Regions from separate parts of the Homo sapiens genome. Here regions 1, 2, 3 and 4 are each linked to region 5. Evidence: promoter capture Hi-C in 16 types of primary human blood cells and fetal thymus (Javierre and others, 2016). All regions are on one chromosome and are shown on one strand. Each heading gives the region's core, a stretch centred on a gene start or on the middle of the fragment in contact. The rest is flanking DNA. Distances are from core to core; before and after follow the strand shown. Region 1 overlaps MTOR (mechanistic target of rapamycin kinase). Region 2 overlaps EXOSC10 (exosome component 10). Region 3 holds the start of ANGPTL7 (angiopoietin like 7). Region 4 holds the start of TARDBP (TAR DNA binding protein). Region 5 holds the start of AGTRAP (angiotensin II receptor associated protein).

Region 1 (2,700 bases), core at 150-2,649, 520 kb before region 5:
TATTTCCCAAGATTAATCCATTGAAACAGATACAAAACATAAGGATAATCAAGAGAGGATTACAGACATTCTGTAAACTGCACACATTGGGTATTAGTATTCTTGGGATTCTGTCTTATGGAATGGGCATCAACCTGTCACTCAGAATGAGGTCTCAGCTTTTAGCTGATCACCCAGGGACTCAGAGGAAATCAGAAAATCTCTCTGGAGGATGACGTAGGCTACTCACCTTGATAGAGACAATGCGGCCTGGGCTGTTGTCATGCATGAAGACACGCAGCATGTGTGGGATCAGCTGGGGCAGGTAGAGCTTAAATTCACCCCCAAGAGCTACCACAATTTGCTCAATGAGAAGAATGATCGTGCTCTGAATTGAGGTGTTCATGACCCAGAATTCCTACAAAGAGAGAAAAGTCAGAGGAGCTGAGTCAGGTCCCTTTCTGATGATATATGAACAAAGGAATCAAGATGGCCAGAAAAGCAAAACTGTAGTGAGCATGGTCTGCGCCGAGATCAACTCCTCACTCCCCTCCTCCCACTGGGCCCTTCTTGTGTCCTATGTTGCAGCTACACTGGACAAACTCAATTGCATTTCCCCAGATGCACCAGGCTACCTCAGTCCTCTGGGCTTTGCTCATGCTGCTTCCTCTGCCTAGAATCCCACTTCTTGCTCAGCTAAGCCCTGTCTGTCTTTCTAGACCTGGCTCTAGCCTCACTTCTCCCATGCAGGCTTTCTTCTTCTCCTTCCATGATCCACTTGGGTCCTTTGCACTCCCTTTGATAGCGATAGCAGTTGTAAGACTTCCTTTGCTTTGCTGTCCTCCCTCTAGACTGTAGGCTACTTAGGGACAAGTATCCTATCTCTGTATCCCCAGAATCTATCAATCAGAGCATCTGGAATATTCTAGAATGAACAGATGACTAAGTCACTCAAAAAACTCTGAAGTGGTCCAGGGTGGACTTGGACCTTACTTTGGTATCACCTGATCTCTACCAGAGGGTGACTCCAGTATTACAAATATTTCCTGGCTTTTCTGGATTTAGATTTTGCTATTAATAGATAGCATCTGATATCTGTCCCTTCCCAAAAATCTATCCATCAGGCCTGAACAGTGCCACAAAATGAGCCCCTTTCTACACCCACATGGTTATTTTCCACACAAGTTACTAAAATAAAAACTTGGCCAACTGGCCACAGATCCTGCCTCAGTGCTGCAAAGCAAATTAGTCCAAGCCTCTAACTCCAGGAAAAGATATCATTTCTATCAACTCAAAAAGACAGCTGCCTACCACCATCTTTAAAAGTTCTGGAGTAGGAAATTTAATGATAATAGAAACCCTACTAATGATGGCAACACATGAATGTTAATATTCTTGGAGCCTCTAAATAGTTCAAAGTAGAAGTCCATAACAACAAGGATAACTCCTCAGATGAAAGGCTTTATAAAAAGATATAGTATTTTTATTTAAAAAGGTATCTTTAAAAGCATAATGGTTTAGAAAGCAAAAACTATACTAGAAGATGCTGGTAAAACTTCCTTTCTCTCTACTTGGAGAGAAGTATTCTCTCTGAAAAAGCTGTGTTTTCTAGGTTAAAAGTGTTGCCAAAGAAACACCACAGATTTCACAGCCTCCAGAGTCTGTCTGATGTTCATCCACTTGAACCCTACTCTGCCTTCTTTAGAGAAGGCCAACCTACCTCCCAGCTGCATTATCATCAGCTCCTCACAGGGGCTTCTCTACCTCAAAGATGTCAGGCAGCCTGCCAAGGGATGTCAGCTGGATCACTGTTCACAAAGACTATTTTCTTCCCAGGCTCGGGGGAGCTCATTAAAATGCCCAGAATCAACAGTCAAAGGAAGAGCCCCCGTTGCACCTTCTCTATCTGGGATGAAATGAAAGCTGTATTTTGCAGGTGTGAGGCTCCCTGCCTCAATTCCCTGTGTTTTGGTCATCAACCTGTTATGACTATAATATGGTCATATTGTATCCTTGTTTAGCCTTCTTGGGGGGATTAAGTCACAGATTACTTCATCCTCCTCCCATGAGGACACTGCTTCTTCCCTTGCCCCTCCTCCCACTAAGACTAGCCATCGGCCTCTTTAGCATTCTGCCTAAATCCTCCTTGTACAGAGGCTTCTGTGGTAAGAGTCAGGGAATAGAGCAGCTTTTAATTATTTATACATGTAGGGAGGTTTTCAGTTCTGAGATCCAGGTGCTGGGAAGTTCCATTTGAAACCAGCCATTTTGATTTTAGTCCTGCTAAAATCAAATAGTCCAGCCATTTTGATTTTAGTCCAAACTAACTACAAAGGTCTGGTGTGAAAGAACAGAAATCTTCCAACTCTTTGAGGACATGCCATCCCTGTGAAGCAATCTTCCCCGTAGAGACATTTAAATTATATAGAACACAAGGAAAAATGATATTGCCCATGGGGTGTCTTCTGGCACCTACTTAATGCATGTTATAAAATCCTGGAACCTGAGCCTTTTCTCATGTGCCACTGCAGTCAAAAGGTGATATGTATGGTTTTGGAGGTAGCAGGGTAAAGCATCACCTTGTTCCTTGGTGCCCAACACGTGTCCATCATATTTAACAGCCCTAAGAAAACCCAATCCCTTCATGGTTTATGAGCAGTAACAAAGAGGGCTTTCATGAAAATAGAAAAGCACCCTTGTGATATTAAAGTAAAATTGCTT
Region 2 (2,700 bases), core at 150-2,649, 640 kb before region 5:
AGGCTGAGGCAGGAGAGTGTTGTGAACCCGGGAGGCAGAGCTTGCAGTGAGTCGAGATCGCATCACTGCACTCCAGCCTGGGCGACAGAGCGAGACTCCGTCTCAAAAACAAAACAAAACAAAAAAAAGAGTAAGGGAAAATACTCACCACTCTCTCCAGAATTACATCATTGGCATCAACTAGTAAATCAAACTTGTCTTCCAGCTCAGTCACTTTACTTCGATCCTTAATGTTGCTGCGACACCCATGGTACTGCATTACTCTGCTCATGCTAAGGAAAGGAAAACCAAGGTTAGCTTGTAGATTTTTATTTCACTTGTTTACATTCTGTGAGAGAGAATGTTCAAATGATGTGGCTCAGACTGTTCCCAACACATCTTTTTTTTTTTTTTTGAGACAGTCTTGCTCTGTTGCCCAGGCTGGAGTTCAGTGGCATGATCTTGGCTCTCTGCAACCTCAACCTCCCGGGTTCAAGCGATTCTCGTGTCTCAGCCTCCTGAGTAGCTGGGATTATAGGCACATGCCAACAGGTCTGGTTAATTTTTGTATTTTTAGTAAAGATGAGGTTTTGCCATGTTGGCCAGGCTGCTCTCGAACTCCTGACCCGAAGTGATCTGCCTGCCTCCGACTCCCGGATTCAAGCGATTCTCATGCCTCAGCCTCCTGAGTAGCTGGGATTATGGGCACACGCCACCAGGTCTGGCTAATTTTTGTATTTTTAGTAAAGATGACGTTTCACCACGTTGGCCAGGCTGGTCTCGAACTCTTGACCTGAAGTGATCCACCTGCCTCGGCCTCCCAAAGTTCTGGGATTACAGGTGTGAGCCATGAGCCCAGCCTTTTTCTTTCTTTCTTTCTTTCTTTTTTTTTTTTTTTTTTTTAAAGAGACAGGGTCTTGCTCTGTTACCCAGGCTGGAATGCAGCAGTACAATCACAGCTCCCTGTAGCCTTGAACTCCTGGGCTCAAGTGATACTCCCACCTCAGCCTCCCAAGTAGCTGTGACTTGGGAGTGGTGCACCACCACTCCCAGCTACTTTAAAAATTTTTTGTAGGGATGGAGTCTCCCTACGTTGCCCAGGCTGGTCTTGAACTCCTGGGCTCAAGCGATCCTTCTGCCTTTGCCTCCCAAAGCACTAGGATTACAGGCATGAGCCGCCATGTCTGGCCCCTGATACTTTTTGATGAAACCAATAAAACTTGCACCCTAGCTGGGCGCAGTGGCTCACACCTGTAATCCTAGCACTTCAGGAGTGGTCACGACTTCGAGACCAGCCTGGCCAACATGGTGAAACCCCATCTCTACTAAAAATACAAAAAACTGGCTAGGCGCAGTGGCTTATACCTGTAATCCCAACACTATGGGAGGCTGAGGTGGGTGGATCACAAGGTCAGGAGTTCGAGACCAGCCTGGCCAACATGGTGAAACCTCCTCTACTAAAAATACAAAAATTAGCCGGGAATGGTCGTACATGCCTGTTATCCCAGCTACTGGGGAGGCTGAGGCACAAGAATCGCTTGATCTTGGGAGGTGGAGGTTGCTGCGAGCCGAGATCACGCCACTGCACTTCAGCCTGGGCGACAGAGCAAGACTCCGTACTCCCCCCCAACAAAAAAAAAAAAGCTGGTCGTGGTGGTGTACACCTATAATCCCAGCTACTCGGGAGGCTGAGGCAGGAGAATCGCTTGAACCTGGGAGGCGCAGGTTGCAGTGAGCCGAGATTGAGCCAATGCACTCCAGCCTGGGTGATGGAGCGAGACTCCATCTCAAAAAAAATAAAAATAAAAATAAAAATACCTGCTACTCTACAAGTTGTGGGAAAGAATCTTGGATCTGGCAAGGCGCGGTGGCTCACGCCTGTAATCCCAGCACTTTGGGAGGCCGAGGCAGGTGGATCACGAGGTCAGGAGATCGAGACCATCCTGGCTAACATGTTGAAACCCTGTCTCTACTAAAAATACAAAAAATTAGCTGGGCGTGTTGACGGGCACCTGTAGTCCCAGCTACTCAGGAGGCTGAGGCAGGAGAATAGCGTGAACCTGGGAGGCGGAGCTTGCAGTGAGCCGAGATCATGCCACCGCACTCCAGCCTGGGCAATAGAGCGAGACTCCGTCTCAAAAAAAAAAAAGAATCTTGGCTCTAAGTGTTCACGTCCCATTTAATTAAAAAAGATTTGTACAAAAGTCAATATATTTTTTCAGTACAAAAGTCAATACATTTTTTAAAGGCTAAACTAAAAATATACCAAGTAATATTTCCCTAATCAAAATCCATTGCTTCAATTTTCACATTTTATAGCTCTTCATACCACAGAAAATGTTTAAGGAAAAATAAATTTCAGGAAAAATTTATCTACTTCTTTGTTTTCATTTCTTTTCACTAACACAAGAAAACAAAGTACAGTACTTACCACTGAAGCAACCTGTCTCCCTGTGTTTCGCAAAATGCTTGGAAGCCAGGAAAACTTCGGTAAAAATCATACTCATCGCCAAACTGTGGTAGGCCCCCAGATGCCTTGGTGACTGCCACCACGGACCCAAGAGCAAACTGTCAAAAACAAGAAAAGATGGCATGTTTACACAGGGATCCCCATTCATTTGGTATGTCATTTTTTTGATCTATCGTATACAAGGTATCTACTCTTCATCCATCAAAAAAAGCACTCATTTAGTGCCAAACCCCAATCTAATCTAGGCCCTG
Region 3 (2,700 bases), core at 14-2,513, 550 kb before region 5:
AGCAGGATGTCAAAATATACCAGATCCTCATATAAACAGCATGGATTACATTAACAGGCCTCCCTGGGTGAGTAGCGTCTCTTTCGCCTACCTTACGCTCACCCCATGGTTATATAACCTTTTGAACGGAATTTGGAAATTCTTCTGACCCTGTCCTGCTTGCTGATAGAGTTGAGCCAGTGGCTGGCAGGGGCATAATCTAATAGGCGAAACTGGAAACACACAAATTCACAGTCCTCTTGTCTTAGCCCAGAGACTGTACAGGCAAGGAAAGAAAGACTCGCCCCATCTCCCTCCTCCCCTCCTCTGGCCTAAGTTGCCGCTGACTTCACCCAACAGGCACCTGACCCTCCCAGATGAGCTGGGAGGGGCTAAAGCCTGGTGCAGCCATGGTAGGGGTGGAGGTACAGGCAGCAAACAATATTTAAGATGCTGACTTGTGGAGCATTCGGGCTTGGAAGGAAAGCTATAGGCTACCCATTCAGCTCCCCTGTCAGAGACTCAAGCTTTGAGAAAGGCTAGCAAAGAGCAAGGAAAGAGAGAAAACAACAAAGTGGCGAGGCCCTCAGAGTGAAAGCGTAAGGTTCAGTCAGCCTGCTGCAGCTTTGCAGACCTCAGCTGGGCATCTCCAGACTCCCCTGAAGGAAGAGCCTTCCTCACCCAAACCCACAAAAGATGCTGAAAAAGCCTCTCTCAGCTGTGACCTGGCTCTGCATTTTCATCGTGGCCTTTGTCAGCCACCCAGCGTGGCTGCAGAAGCTCTCTAAGCACAAGACACCAGCACAGCCACAGCTCAAAGCGGCCAACTGCTGTGAGGAGGTGAAGGAGCTCAAGGCCCAAGTTGCCAACCTTAGCAGCCTGCTGAGTGAACTGAACAAGAAGCAGGAGAGGGACTGGGTCAGCGTGGTCATGCAGGTGATGGAGCTGGAGAGCAACAGCAAGCGCATGGAGTCGCGGCTCACAGATGCTGAGAGCAAGTACTCCGAGATGAACAACCAAATTGACATCATGCAGCTGCAGGCAGCACAGACGGTCACTCAGACCTCCGCAGGTAAGGAGACCAGTCCCCTGAGGGAGCGTGGAGTGCCTCCCCATCTACAGCACTGCTTCTACATATCCTGGTCATCAGAACCACTACTGGGGCCTCTTTTGTGGGTACACTTTCCCTTTAGTAAAGGCTTATGCAGTATTTCCTTTGACTTCTAATGCTATGTAAGTTTACCTAACACCTTCACGGGTCTCTTTTATCCACACAGTGTTTCAGCCTACCATCTTGGAGTGCTGAGATACTACATGGTTTGCCCAAAGTCACCCAGCAAGTCTTAGAAGCAGGGTTCAAGTCTTCCTGATTGGTGTAGCTCTGCTACTTCCTCACCAAGAGCTGACAGGCTATATCTCAAGAAATTCCAAGGAAGCACCAAACTGTAACAGCTGTTCCTCTGGAAGCAAAGTTTTGCCAGAAACAGTTCTCTGGTGTTCCTAAGATTTACCAGGAATGAGCATTAATGGAATTTTGTGTCCTCTCTCTGTAAACGTAACTCTTCTCATTGGCTCAGAGTTAAGTGTAGAGACACATAACCATGTGAAGAGTCCCTTTGTGTTCAGGAAGGATGCGGCTCCTTAAGGTTCCTCAATTGTGATACGTCTATTTTTTTCCATGGTCTTAAATGAATTTCTCCGAATACAGGATTTTTTAAATGCAATGCTGAAATATAGACTTAATAGGCCAAAAATAAGATAAATTTAATCTTTCTTTTGCAAAATAACTTTTATTTCTGGTTAGCTCAGCTCAGGTGGGCCAACATGAATTTACGGTTTAGAGATAAAAATTTGGTTTTCTGAAATTATCAGGAAAATATTAGTTGTAAGGAGCATATCCTATAGACATGTCATTTCTTGCTGATATAAAAACCATTGGTCCCATTATAAACTACATGAAGAACAAAGACATGATCAGCTTCTACTGACTAAGTCAATGGTTAACCTCAGCTCAAATTAAGAAAAAGTTTTAACATGAAACCAAGCTTGAAAATTCTGTTACCTGAACCAACATGTATCAATCACTTTCTAAGCATGGACTTCCGGGCCCTCAGTTTGGGATTAGAAAGGTATTCTCAGGCCATTTTCCAGACAAGTGAGTCCTGATTTGGTCTGTGAGATGAAACCAGACATGCGGAAGACCAGGCCAGACAGAGGAATCTGACCGTGCCACTTCCTGCTCATCCAAACAGGAGGCTTTCTCACCATCCTGCAAGGAGGTTCTTGGGGTCAAGTGCAGCTCTCCCACCAGGTCTCTTGCTCTTCTTGCCCAGGACATCATTCCTTATTTTTCTTCTCTATGACCAAGTGCTCAGTTACCCTTATATTCTATAAGTAGGTAGTCCCTTAGAGGAAGCAGTAAGTTGGTGCTTTCACCACTAAGACGAAATGAAGAATAGTGATGGCGAAGGCACACGTACTCTACCTCCCTTTCCCAAGGTGCTCTGCAAGAGAACCTATGTGCCTCAGACAACTCCCATCTGCCATCTTGGTGCTCCTCTCTAAGGTCCCAGTGCAGTGGTCACCAAGAAAAGCACCCCGAGACATAGCAGGCAGGAAGCTTCTCTTGGATAGTAAGGGCCGCAGTCTCTGAATCCTATCAGAAAAGGCTGTCTCTTCCACTATGCTCTTTGATATTTAGAATACAGAGCTTAAATCCTG
Region 4 (2,700 bases), core at 160-2,659, 720 kb before region 5:
GTCTGAAAAAAAGGAAGAGAAAAGAAAGAGAGAGAGAGAGAAAGAGAGAGAGGTAGGGAGGAAGGAAGGTGGGAAGGGAGGGAAGGGGGGGAAAGGGAGGGAAGGGAGGAAAGGAAGGGAAGGAAAGGAAAGAAAGGAAAGAAAAGATAGAAAAGAAAGGTGGCTCGTGCCTGTAATCCCAGCACTTTGGGGAGCTGAGGCAGGCGGATCACTTGAGGCCATGAGTTCGAGATCAGCCTGGCCAACATGGCCAAACCCTGTCTCTACTAAAAATACAAAAATTAGCCGGGCATGGTGTCTTTGCACGCCTATAATCCCAGCTATCCCTTGAACCTAGGAGTTGGAAGTGGCAGTGAGCTGCAGATTGCGCCACTGCACTCCAGCCTGGGGGACAAGAGCGAGACTCCGTCTCAAAAAAAAAAAAAAAAAAAGTGAAACAAAAAGTGTGCCTTAAAATAGATGAAGTACTGTATTATTATTATTATTAAAGGGCTGGAGCCAGAACAAGTTAGCATTTTGTGCCTCGAGATTCAAATCCCAGGTCTACCATTTATTCCTTGGGTGACATTTTTTTGGGGGGAGGGGCTGGAGGACAGGGTCTCACTCTGTCGCCTAGACTGGAGTGAAGTGGCGCGATCTCGGCTCACCGCAACCTCCGCCTACCGCGTTCAAGCAATTCTCCTGCTTCAGGCTCCCGAGTAGATGGGACTACAGGCGCGCGCCACTACCGCCCGGCTAATCCTTGCGTCACTTTAAGCAAGACACTTGATCTCTCTGTGCCTCAGTTTCCTCACCCGCAGAATGAATATCAATAGCTCCTGCTACACAAAACTGTTTGGGCTATTAAATATGTGAATACTCAGAAAGTACCTGGCACAAAGTAGCCTTATCATTGCTATTATTTAGAACAAAGTTATTGTTTCCAGGTTTGGAGGTGGGCTGGCGGAGGGAGGAGAAGACGCACTAGGTTGCCTTTCAGAAAAGGGGTCCAGGCCTTATCCTGCCTCCCAGGTGGACTCGGCCCGGGATCCCGAGCCCCGCCCCCTCCAGGCCCCGCCCCGCCCCGCCCTCGCTGGCCGAGACTCTGTGCTACTCTCGCGCGCTTTGAAAGTGCGCGAGCTCCGACCGAGACCTGGGCCGGCGGTTGGTCGGCCGAAACCATCTGCTACGTTACGTGGGGGGAGGTCAGCTCCTATACAGCCACACTTTTTTCAATCTTCAGCTTTTCAGGCCTAGGTCCTGGTTTTATTTTAGCTTTCAGAGCTTCTCTGTAGGCTTGAATTTCCAGGAGGCAGCCCGAGTCCCTGGGGAGAGGGTCATCGTGGCTCTCGTCGGTGCCTTCCACCTCTGGACAGGCAACCGGTGGGAGAGGACGCCGGTGGGCGGGGGGAGGAGGCGGCCCTAGCGCCATTTTGTGGGAGCGAAGCGGTGGCTGGGCTGCGCTTGGGTCCGTCGCTGCTTCGGTGTCCCTGTCGGGCTTCCCAGCAGCGGCCTAGCGGGTGAGTCGCGGAGCCTTCTCACTGAGGACGCCGTAGGTGCCTCGGCTTCTGCATTGGGGCGGCCCGAGGCAGACGCAGCGGCTTCGGACCCTGCCCCGGGAAGTCAGCCGTGAGACCGGGCCTAGTCCTGCCCGAGCGGGCTCGCGCGGGAGCGTCGTTAGGTCCTGGCACGGGGAGGCCGGTGGCGCCGAAACGGGGGGCCGGGCCCGCGGTGCCGCGTAGCCTGAGGCGGAGGTTGGCCCCGGACCCGGACAGTGCCGGAGCCTTCGGTACTTTGTACTTCGAGGGACGCTGCCAGCTTGGGCCTGGTGCTCCTGCGCCCCACCCCGGGCCGCGCCGAGAAACTCCTCCCTCGGCTGGCACGCGCGGGCTTCTGGGAGGCGACGGCCGGCACCGCCAGGACCTGTCGCCGCGGGCCTTGGGGCTCGGGCTCGCAGAGCCCCCGGAAGCCCCAAAATGAGGAACAGAGGGAAACTTTTCTCCTGTTCTTTACACCTGGTTCACTGCCCATATTCAGTCTTCAGGTTCAGCTGATGGATCGCTTGCTTAGGAAAATCGACTGGGACCTATCACGCCCATGCCTCAGCCAGTTAGGCTCCTCCTCTGCCTTCAGGATTACTTAACGACTAACCCGATTGTCATAAAATAGCTACTGTTTATTGTTCCCTTGCATACCCTAGCTTGTAACCAGCAAGCCACGTTGGACTCACAGTTACAGTTTCAGTACCTGACGCATCATAAGCCTTCAGGGAAAGTTTTTTGAATGAATGAACTGGCGAGGCATCACATTTTGATAGGAAATCACTACCCTTACCTTCACCTCGTCATTTTTCAGGGATAACCAATGCATATACGAATCCAGACAAGCATTTTTCTGGAAGTCAGAACTCTGACATGGTTTGGGTATTATCATTATAAGGAAACAGTTATTCTGACATGAATGTTGTTCATTCATATCTCTTTTCTCTTTAGGAAAAGTAAAAGATGTCTGAATATATTCGGGTAACCGAAGATGAGAACGATGAGCCCATTGAAATACCATCGGAAGACGATGGGACGGTGCTGCTCTCCACGGTTACAGCCCAGTTTCCAGGGGCGTGTGGGCTTCGCTACAGGAATCCAGTGTCTCAGTGTATGAGAGGTGTCCGGCTGGTAGAAGGAATTCTGCATGCCCCAGATGCTGGCTGGGGAAATCTGGTGT
Region 5 (2,700 bases), core at 103-2,602:
CCTGGAGGTAGAGCGGATTAATGTTCTTGTTGCGGTGGGGGGATGTGGTGGTCAACAATCTTTAAGGGAGGTGCCAGGTGAGGCAGGAGACAGCCCTTTCTTTCCTCATGTACAATTGGGGGAGGAATTTCTTATGGTTTTTCAGCTAGAGTTTTCTAAAACTTTTGGTATGCTGATTAAAGTGGGCTCCCACCAATTTGGCTCCTCAGGTGTTGCTTTTTGTTTGTTTGTTTTTCCCAGACAAGGTCTCACCCTGTCGTCCAGGCTGGAGTGTAGTGGCGTGATCTCGGCTCACTGCAGCCTCCCCGGTTCAAGCAATTCTCGTGCCTCAGCCTCCTGAGTAGCTGGGACTGCAGGTGCACACCACCATGCCCTGCTAATTTTGGTATTTTTAGTAGAGACGGGGTTTCACCATGTTGGCCAGGCTGGTCTCGAACTACTGAGTTCAGGTGATCCACCCTCCTTGGCCTCCCAAAGTGCTGGGATAACAGGGGTGAGCCACTGCGCCCAGCCTCATCTTGTGTTGGTAATAACAATAGCTTGTGTGTCCTGCCCATTTACTAAGTGCCGGGCACTGTTCTCTCCTAGAACAAACCGTAGTTAGACTCCTCTGAGTCCTCATCTTGACTAGGCCTCGGCCTTGGACCTCTGTGTCTTCCTGTCCTTGCTGGGCCTGAGCCTGCATAATAAACCAGTTTCAGCAAGAGTCCTGCTAAGTTAGCAAGAACTCCCCCATCCTTGATGTCTCCTCCTAGGAATCTTCCATTCCTGCTCCCTCATTCTGCTCTGGCTATAAATCCCTCCTTGGTCCTTGTTGTATTCGGTGTTGAGCCCAAACTCTCACTCCATGGCAATAACCCTACAGCAAGTCTTGAACAGTACTGGTTTAACAACAGTCCCAATAACGTTTTCTTTAACAACAGCAGTTAGCTCATTTAATCCTCATAAGGATCATATGAGGTAGGTAGCCTAAATAGCCCATTTACACAGGGAAGTGGGAAGGAGAGAGGGTGCCCCCAAGGATGAGACACAAGCTGTTGCCACATCAGCACTTTGCGCCTGGACGGTCCCCCAGTTGTCCTGGCTGCAGGCAGTCCGAACAGTCCGCTTCCTGGAATATTAGCCAGGCAGGATACGCCCTGGGCGACAGAAACTCCAACTTTCGCCAGCGGCCCCCAAGTACTGCCTGGGCGGTGGCGGGAGTCTGGAGCTTGGCTGAAGGCGCGAGCTGCCGACGCCGTCTCCTAGCAACCAAGCGGCGGTCACGTGACCCGCTCCAGCCCGTTTCACGTGGTCTTGAGCTGCGCTGGGGTTGGAGTGGCCGCAACGGGCGGGGCGGGGCGGGGCCGGGCAAGTTTGTTCCCCGAGTTCGGAGCCTAGGAGCCCCCCGCGGCTGCGGCGCAGGTGCCCTCGGCCTGAGTCGGGATGGAGCTGCCTGCTGTGAACCTGAAGGTGGCGACGGGCTGGGGGGAGGGTCCCCTTTGCGGGAGGAAGTGGGACATTTGCATTTTCCCGGAAGGTGGGAGGAAGGACCGGAGTTTTGGGGAAAGAGGGATGGTAGGGAGGAAGGGAAGGTACAGACCCCACGCAAGAAGGAGATGGGCAGGCAGGCCACAGCAGGGAGAGTGATCCAGGCACAGGCCAGCAGGGCGACACTGAGGGGCCGTGGGAGGTGGCAGCGGAGGGCAAGGGCCGCCCCCTCCCGGACTCAGACCCTCCCAGCGGGCAGCGCCGGTCCCAGCATTGCTGTTGCCTGCACGCCCAGAATTCCCCTGGAGGAGGAGGAAGGTGCGCGGGAGGGGCTTGTAGGCGGCTCACCTCCCCCGCGCGGGGTCAGGGACTGGGCTTGCCCCCCGGGTCCCAGCACCGTTTCAGGAGCCTCCTTGTTTGCTAAGTCGGGTTAAGGAAATCAGATGTTCCCAAGCAGTTGGTTTTATAAAGTTTACACATCCAGCGCCCTTATTTCATAATCAAGAAGCGCGAACTCCAACAGAAATTACTTAAAAGCAGAAAACCCCAACTTTGTGCACTGGGGAAAACACTGCAGGGCTTCCTGTGGTGTCTTCATTTCCCGAGCCGTGAGCTCAGTCCGGGTCTGGGTGCCAGCGGCTGTTCTTTTTCTCCCCGCCCAGCCCCGCCGCCCACGTGTCTGGGCTCCATTTGCATTAGAGGGGCTAGGGGCTGTAGTTTTGGTCAGGAAGGTGTGGACCTTGGACCAAACCGGCCATTTTGGGTCTTAGTGCAGCCTCCTTTGAGGCAATATCCAGGAATGTCCTCTTACTCATGAATGACAGAGCATTTAGCTCCCTGTTGGTGTCTGGGACTAAAGGAACCTGAGAAATAGATGGTTACAAAACAATGGCTTAATACACTTTATTATTACACAACATCTGTGCTATGACTTGCTATAGGCATGTTTCCCTTCTTAATCATACTTGCTTCAGCAAACCTTCCTGAAGCTTCCAGTCAAAGGTGGTGGGGAGACATGGCTGGAGCAAGGGAATGGGCTTGGATGGAACGTTCAGCTGGGAAGAAATTTACGTGACAGCAGCCGAGGCTTGTTGGTATCAATATGCACTCTATTCCAGGCAATGTGGGGTTAACACCAACTGCCTTTTCTCTGATGAGGGATTTGCTTAAAATAATTGCTGACAGAGGATCAGGTGAGGGCAGTGGGAGGGACAGAGCTCTAATTTATGG

Evidence for each region. The method cuts DNA at HindIII sites, captures the fragments that hold promoters and counts their contacts. A CHiCAGO score of 5 or more calls a contact.
Region 1: a fragment that was not itself captured here is called in contact with the fragment with the promoter of AGTRAP in region 5 in 1 of 17 cell types (total CD4 T cells); the score reaches 5.4 in total CD4 T cells.
Region 2: a contact is called between a fragment that was not itself captured here and the fragment with the promoter of AGTRAP in region 5, in 6 of 17 cell types (fetal thymus, erythroblasts, total CD8 T cells and 3 more). The highest score is 8.2, in fetal thymus.
Region 3: a contact is called between a fragment that was not itself captured here and the fragment with the promoter of AGTRAP in region 5, in 1 of 17 cell types (endothelial precursors). The highest score is 5.1, in endothelial precursors.
Region 4: the fragment with the promoter of TARDBP here is called in contact with the fragment with the promoter of AGTRAP in region 5 in 2 of 17 cell types (naive CD4 T cells and total B cells); the score reaches 7.2 in naive CD4 T cells.

What each region holds. Positions count from the first base shown.
Region 1 is chr1:11,213,170-11,215,869 of GRCh38, forward strand. It overlaps MTOR (mechanistic target of rapamycin kinase), which reads right to left. Exons shown (of 58, transcript NM_004958.4): 21 at 230-397. Among named protein-coding and RNA genes, the nearest start is that of ANGPTL7, 25 kb to the left of the region's middle. The HindIII fragment of the contact is 3,623 bases long and covers 1-2,700 here.
Region 2 is chr1:11,095,610-11,098,309 of GRCh38, forward strand. It overlaps EXOSC10 (exosome component 10), which reads right to left. Exons shown (of 25, transcript NM_001001998.3): 2 at 2,411-2,547; 3 at 149-272. Among named protein-coding and RNA genes, the nearest start is that of EXOSC10-AS1, 2.7 kb to the right of the region's middle. The HindIII fragment of the contact is 3,359 bases long and covers 1-2,700 here.
Region 3 is chr1:11,188,905-11,191,604 of GRCh38, forward strand. The region is part of intron 28 of MTOR (mechanistic target of rapamycin kinase); the gene reads right to left. It overlaps ANGPTL7 (angiopoietin like 7), which reads left to right and starts at 451. Exons shown (of 5, transcript NM_021146.4): 1 at 451-1,051. The coding sequence starts at 676. RefSeq lists an enhancer at 804-1,304. The HindIII fragment of the contact is 1,518 bases long and covers 505-2,022 here.
Region 4 is chr1:11,011,245-11,013,944 of GRCh38, forward strand. It overlaps TARDBP (TAR DNA binding protein), which reads left to right and starts at 1,410. Exons shown (of 6, transcript NM_007375.4): 1 at 1,410-1,499; 2 at 2,472-2,700. The coding sequence starts at 2,484. RefSeq lists silencers at 843-1,072, 2,482-2,700 and enhancers at 1,113-1,442, 1,153-2,120. The HindIII fragment of the contact is 20,579 bases long and covers 1-2,700 here.
Region 5 is chr1:11,734,784-11,737,483 of GRCh38, forward strand. It overlaps AGTRAP (angiotensin II receptor associated protein), which reads left to right and starts at 1,353. Exons shown (of 5, transcript NM_020350.5): 1 at 1,353-1,452. The coding sequence starts at 1,426. The HindIII fragment of the contact is 3,809 bases long and covers 1-2,457 here.